Linked DNA regions of Homo sapiens: region 1 is linked to region 2. The links are contacts of gene promoters, found by promoter capture Hi-C in blood cells and fetal thymus (Javierre and others, 2016). All regions are on one chromosome and are shown on one strand. Each heading gives the region's core, a stretch centred on a gene start or on the middle of the fragment in contact. The rest is flanking DNA. Distances are from core to core; before and after follow the strand shown.

Region 1 (2,700 bases), core at 21-2,520, 110 kb after region 2:
GGAAGCCCTGCACCCAGCCAGCTATTAGCAAGTGACAGGCAAGCCAGAGAGCATGGCCAGAAGCCTGGAAGGGTGGAAAGAACAGTTAAGGATCAAGTTCTCTAATCCTTCCAAAGAAGGATCTGGGGAAAGTTCTTTTTTTTTTTTAAGACAGAGTCTCGCTCTGTCACCCAGGCTGGCACGCAGTGGCACGATGATCTCGGCTCACTGCAACCTCTGCCTCCCGGGTTCAGGCAATTCTCCTGCCTCAGCCTCCTGAGTAGCTGGGATTACAGGCGCACCCCACCACACCCAGTTTTAATTTTTGTATTTTTAGTAGAGATGGAGTTTCACCATGTTGGTCAGGCTGGTCTTGAACTCCTGACCTTGTGATCCACCCACCTCGGCCTCCCAAAGTGCTAGGATTACAGGCATGAGCCACCGCACCCGGCCCGGGGAAAGTTCTTAAAGGGACTGAACCAGGAGTCTGGGCAGGATTCCTTGATGGCAAGGAACAGTGCCTACTCATGGCAGGGTGAGTAAAGGGGAATGGATTAGTTGGGACTTTTGGTTGCAAGTGAACGAAATCCAACTCACACAAGCTTAAGCAAAAAGGGAGGCTTATTGGCTCATGTAATTGGGAAGTTCAGGCATGGCTGGGTCCAGAAACTCAGTTGCATCCTCTCTCCCTCCCTCCTTCTGCTTCTCTCTCTGTGGCACCATTGTCCTTCCAGATGTGCTTCTTCCATGTTCTTTCACCTGCCAAATGGGTTCCCAGCTCACATTGCCCCAAATTAACAACCTCAGAGAAAAAGAGCCAAATCTCCCAGAAGCCCTAAATAAGAGTGAAGAGTGTCTCAGCTGGGGTCACATGCTCATCCTTGTGTCCAGGGACACAGGGCTCCGCCATTGGTCAGGTCTCAGTTACAGGTCTCTGTACCAGGTCTGGTACTTCTTGACCAGAAAACCAGGGAGGCAGGGCTTTTTATTAGAAAGAGAGGCCGGGAAAAGTGGCCACTCAAGCAAAACCACAATCCACCAAATTTCCTTTTGGGGGCATTTGTTGAAACAATGTGGAGAATCTCATGAAAGTGTAGAGATGGGCACCAGAGCCAGGCCTTAGCTAGAACTTGGGAAACTGTCAGGAGCAGAGGCGGCTCCATCTCAGGGCAGCATGGTTTCTCTCATGTGCTGCTCTCTGCACATCCTTTCCCATCTTGATCTGCTGCTCATCTCATTCTGCTCAGAGAGTCTCCACCTGCGCCGAGCTTTACTTTGCATATAACTGCAGTCTGCTGAGGCTCACCCAGGTCTCTTCGGAGCCAACTGTATTTCACAGCATCCTCAGCTTCTATTCCAATGGTTGACTGCCCAGCCCATTTCCCAATTCCAAATTCCTGAGAAAGACAAATCTGCTTGGCCCAGGTCATCTTTTCAAGCCAATCACACAGATTAAAGGCCGCTGGACAGCATGGGGGTGGCTCACTTTTGTGTGAAGTGCCCACCTCCATCCAAGTAACCACTCTATGTATTCTTCCTGAGTTACTTCATCATTCTTCTCCATGAGGCACCTGAGAATAATTGACCTCATTCCTAGAGTTTCAATTATTTATTGCAGTGTAACAAGCTACCCCAAAACTTGGTGCCTGAAACAACAATTTATTATTTTTGATGATTCTGTGAGTTGGCTGGGCTCAGCTGGAAGGTTTTACTGCTTCAGGTTGTGTTGGCTGGCGTCACCCACATAGCTGCACTCCACTGGGAGCTGAGCTGGGGCTGGGACAGCCAGGATGGCCTCATTCACATGTCTGTCAATTGTGCCTATAGTCACCTGGGCTGTCGCTAGCTTCTTATCCTCCAGGTCCTATCTGTCTCACTACGTGGCCTTTCCAGCAGGATAGTCCAGACTTATTTACATAGTAGCTGGCTCCCAAGAGGGCAAAAATGGAATCTGCAAGGCCTCTTAAGACGTAAGCTTGGAAACCACAGAGCACCACTTCTACTCCATTCAATTGGTCAAAGCAAGTCACAGGGCCAGCTCAGACTGGACTCCACCTCTGAATGGGAGGAATGTCAAAGTCACATTTCCAAAGGACAGGCAGGATGGAAGAGGTTTTTGGGCCATCTCTGGAAACAATCTTCTAGAAGTAAGTCTAAACACACTTCCCCCAATCCTAACATTTTATTATGATTTTTCCCTTCCTCCCACACAAGGGTTGGTTTATTCCTCCCAGGACCTGGTGGAGGCTGAGGGGATCACTCCATTCTGTAGCCCCCTCACCTCCCCAGTCAGAGGCCCTCCTAGCTAAGCCAGTGTTTTCTCCTGCTTCTCCCACCCACCCATGCACACCTCTGAGAGAGGCTGTCTGCTTCCTGGCCTGTACCTTGGGATGGGTGACATTTGTGTCTGCACCCTGAGACTAGTACAGAGCTCTGCATCAAGAGGGACAACACCCTGGAATTCCAGGATGGTAGTTCCGAGGCCCCTCTTCTGCCCTCCCTCTATCCAGCCCCTTCATGGCCTATAACAAATCACCCCAAGCTGGGCAGGTGGGGGCCTAGGAATGCGCGCCCTCTGCTGACCACCAAAGGGCCAGCAAGAATTCGGGTTCAGAGTCCCTGGGAGTCTCTCTGGCCTGGGTCCCCACCCCAGGCCAAGGTCTCGACCTGAGACCACCCGAGCCTGGTCTCAACATGGACTTCAAGGGCCCCTCCTAGGTG
Region 2 (2,700 bases), core at 96-2,595:
TGCTTAAGGAGCCAGCAAATGACCATTTACATTAATAATTTATTTAATATAGAAATTTTTATTGAAGTGATGACTTCTAAATGTGATTTTTGGGGGCATTATACACTTGCTTCGAGGTTTAATCTTCAATCCACATGGGGGGGCACCATAATCACTGGTGCCCAGGGCCCTCGTCTAGCCCCTGTGAGGCCCTTTGCAGTCCCTCCCTTGCCAGCCCCTCCAGCCTCCGCCATTTGCCCCGTGGGCTCTCCAGGTTCCACTTGAGGAGCTGCCCCCTGCCCCAGCCCAGCTCTACTGCTGTGTGACCTAGCGTAAGTCCCTTAACCGCTGTGTGCCTCAGTTTCCTCATTTGTTAAAAGAGGAGGTTCCAGTGGTAGGTACCCCCTGACGATGTGCAAGCATCACAGAAATGACACAAGACACACACTGAGAACATGCCTCGCGCGTGGCAAGTGCTGACTGTTACCTGCCATTATTAGGCTCCCCCGCCGGGGTCTCAGGGCCTTGGCACAAGCTCTTCCCTCTGCTTGGAGCACTTTCCTCCACTGACCTTTCCTGGCGCTCCAGGTCAACTCCAGGAGCCTTCCCAGTACAGTCTAGGTGCCTTCTCCTTCCGCAGCGCCTGAACCACACAGGAATAAGTAAGGCGAGAGCGCGCCCAGAGAAGAGCAGAGAGTGCAGAAAGGGGCTGAGTTAGTAGAGGCATTTCCGCGGGGATCCTTCTCCTGCCAGGCCTGCACCGGGGCCGTGGCGACTGAGAAGTGCACAGGTGGCTCCCGGGTGCTCCAGAAGGGCCCCAGAGCTCCTGGCCCGGCTAAAGGCAGGAGGCGGGTGCGCGTCTCCCCCGCGAAGCTGGATCAGTACTGGGGGCGCAGGGGGCGCACGCCGCGCAGCGAGGGCTGGCGGGGGCGGCCTGCCTGGGGCGCTGCCCAGGCTCACGCGGGAGCCAGGTGGGGGCGCGGGGAGGAGCAGCTGAGCAGGTGCCGGGAAGGAGGCGCCTGCAGCATGCCATGGCGACCCGCGCACGCGACGGCGGGGCGGCCGGGTGGCACCACTGGCGGGACCGGAAGGGCGCCGCGGCCCTAGGATCTCTGCGCCGAGGCCCGCGGCGGAAGCCACGACGGCCATGACCACGCTGACGCCCAGGCTGCGAGCCCCTCGCCCGGGCCGCCTGCCCACCCGCCACGCCCAGGTAGCACCTCGGGGTCTCCCCACCCGCGACACCGGCCGCAGCCCCGGGCCCCCTCGCAGGCGTGGCCCCCGCTCCCAGGCCCCGCCCCCGCCCCCCCATTGGTCAGTCCCGGGGTGGGGGCGGGCGACGCGGACCGCTGGGCAGGGCAGGGCAGGGACTCGCGGGAACCGCACCAAGCGGGTGGCTGCAGGAGCTCGCCCATCGCCCCTGCGCTGCTCGGACCGCGGCCACAGCCGGACTGGCGGGTACGGCGGCGACAGACGGATTGGCCGAGAGTCCCAGTCCGCAGAGTAGCCCCGGCCTCGAGGCGGTGGCGTCCGCGTCCTCTCGTCCAGGAGCCAGGACAGGTGTCGCGCGGCGGGCGCTCCAGGGACCGCGCTGAGGCCGCGGTCGCCGCCCGTCCCGCCCCGCCCCGCCGCCCGCCGCCCGCCGAGCCCAGCCTCCTTGCCGTCGGGGCGTCCCCAGGCCCTGGGTCGGCCGCGGAGCCGATGCGCGCCCGCTGAGCGCCCCAGCTGAGCGCCCCCGGCCTGCCATGACCGCGCTCCCCGGCCCGCTCTGGCTCCTGGGCCTGGCGCTATGCGCGCTGGGCGGGGGCGGCCCCGGCCTGCGACCCCCGCCCGGCTGTCCCCAGCGACGTCTGGGCGCGCGCGAGCGCCGGGACGTGCAGCGCGAGATCCTGGCGGTGCTCGGGCTGCCTGGGCGGCCCCGGCCCCGCGCGCCACCCGCCGCCTCCCGGCTGCCCGCGTCCGCGCCGCTCTTCATGCTGGACCTGTACCACGCCATGGCCGGCGACGACGACGAGGACGGCGCGCCCGCGGAGCGGCGCCTGGGCCGCGCCGACCTGGTCATGAGCTTCGTTAACATGGGTGAGTGCGGCCGCCCGCGCGGGGACCCTCGGAGTAAGCTGGCTGCAGGGGAGGGGCGCGCATCCGCGGGCTGTGCCGGGCCCTGGCCGAACGGGGAGTCACAGACGGTGGACGCGAACCACAGGGGAGTGGGACCGCCGTGGTTAGGGAAGGTCTAAGGGTCATGGGGGCCCCCTGGGCTGCGGGGTGGTCAGGAGCAGAGTGTGGGGGACTGTGGACTCCCAGGCGCTGCCTTCACCCTGCCCCAAACACACCCAGGAGTAAGAATCAGGTGATGTCTTTGCCCACCTGGGCTGCCCCGGGAAGACAGCCTGGTCCTGGGGAGACAGGTGAGTAAACAGAGGCCGGGATGCTGTCACTGTGATAAGGGCAGTACTGAGGAGAGGGACAAAGTTCAGCGTGGAAACCTGTGGTCACATCGGAGTGACCAGAGCTGAGTCGCGTGCCCTGAGTCCACAGCAGGCTCTTCTCTGTGCGGAGCCTGGGTGGGGTGCGGCTGTCAGGGGGGCGGCTGGGGAAGGAGCAAACTCAGCTCGCTGGGGCAGGGACTGTTGCCTTGTCACCCTGGGCCCAACACCTGGGATGTGATCTGGTATGGGGTGAGTGTCCAGTCCTGTGGAATGGTCCAGTGGGCAGCTGGAC

The links. Contacts are between HindIII fragments. The CHiCAGO score rates a contact against its expected background, and 5 or more counts as called.
Region 1: a fragment that was not itself captured here is called in contact with the fragment with the promoter of BMP8B in region 2 in 1 of 17 cell types (megakaryocytes); the score reaches 5.7 in megakaryocytes.

What each region holds. Positions count from the first base shown.
Region 1 is chr1:39,672,689-39,675,388 of GRCh38, reverse strand. No RefSeq gene overlaps it. Among named protein-coding and RNA genes, the nearest start is that of NT5C1A, 1.9 kb to the right of the region's middle. The HindIII fragment of the contact is 1,373 bases long and covers 584-1,956 here.
Region 2 is chr1:39,787,510-39,790,209 of GRCh38, reverse strand. BMP8B (bone morphogenetic protein 8b) reads left to right here and starts at 1,345. Exons shown (of 7, transcript NM_001720.5): 1 at 1,345-2,058. The coding sequence starts at 1,725. It overlaps LOC101929536 (a long non-coding RNA gene), which reads right to left and starts at 1,234. Exons shown (of 1, transcript NR_135805.1): 1 at 39-1,234. RefSeq lists an enhancer at 738-1,239 and a silencer at 794-1,393. The HindIII fragment of the contact is 19,151 bases long and covers 1-2,700 here.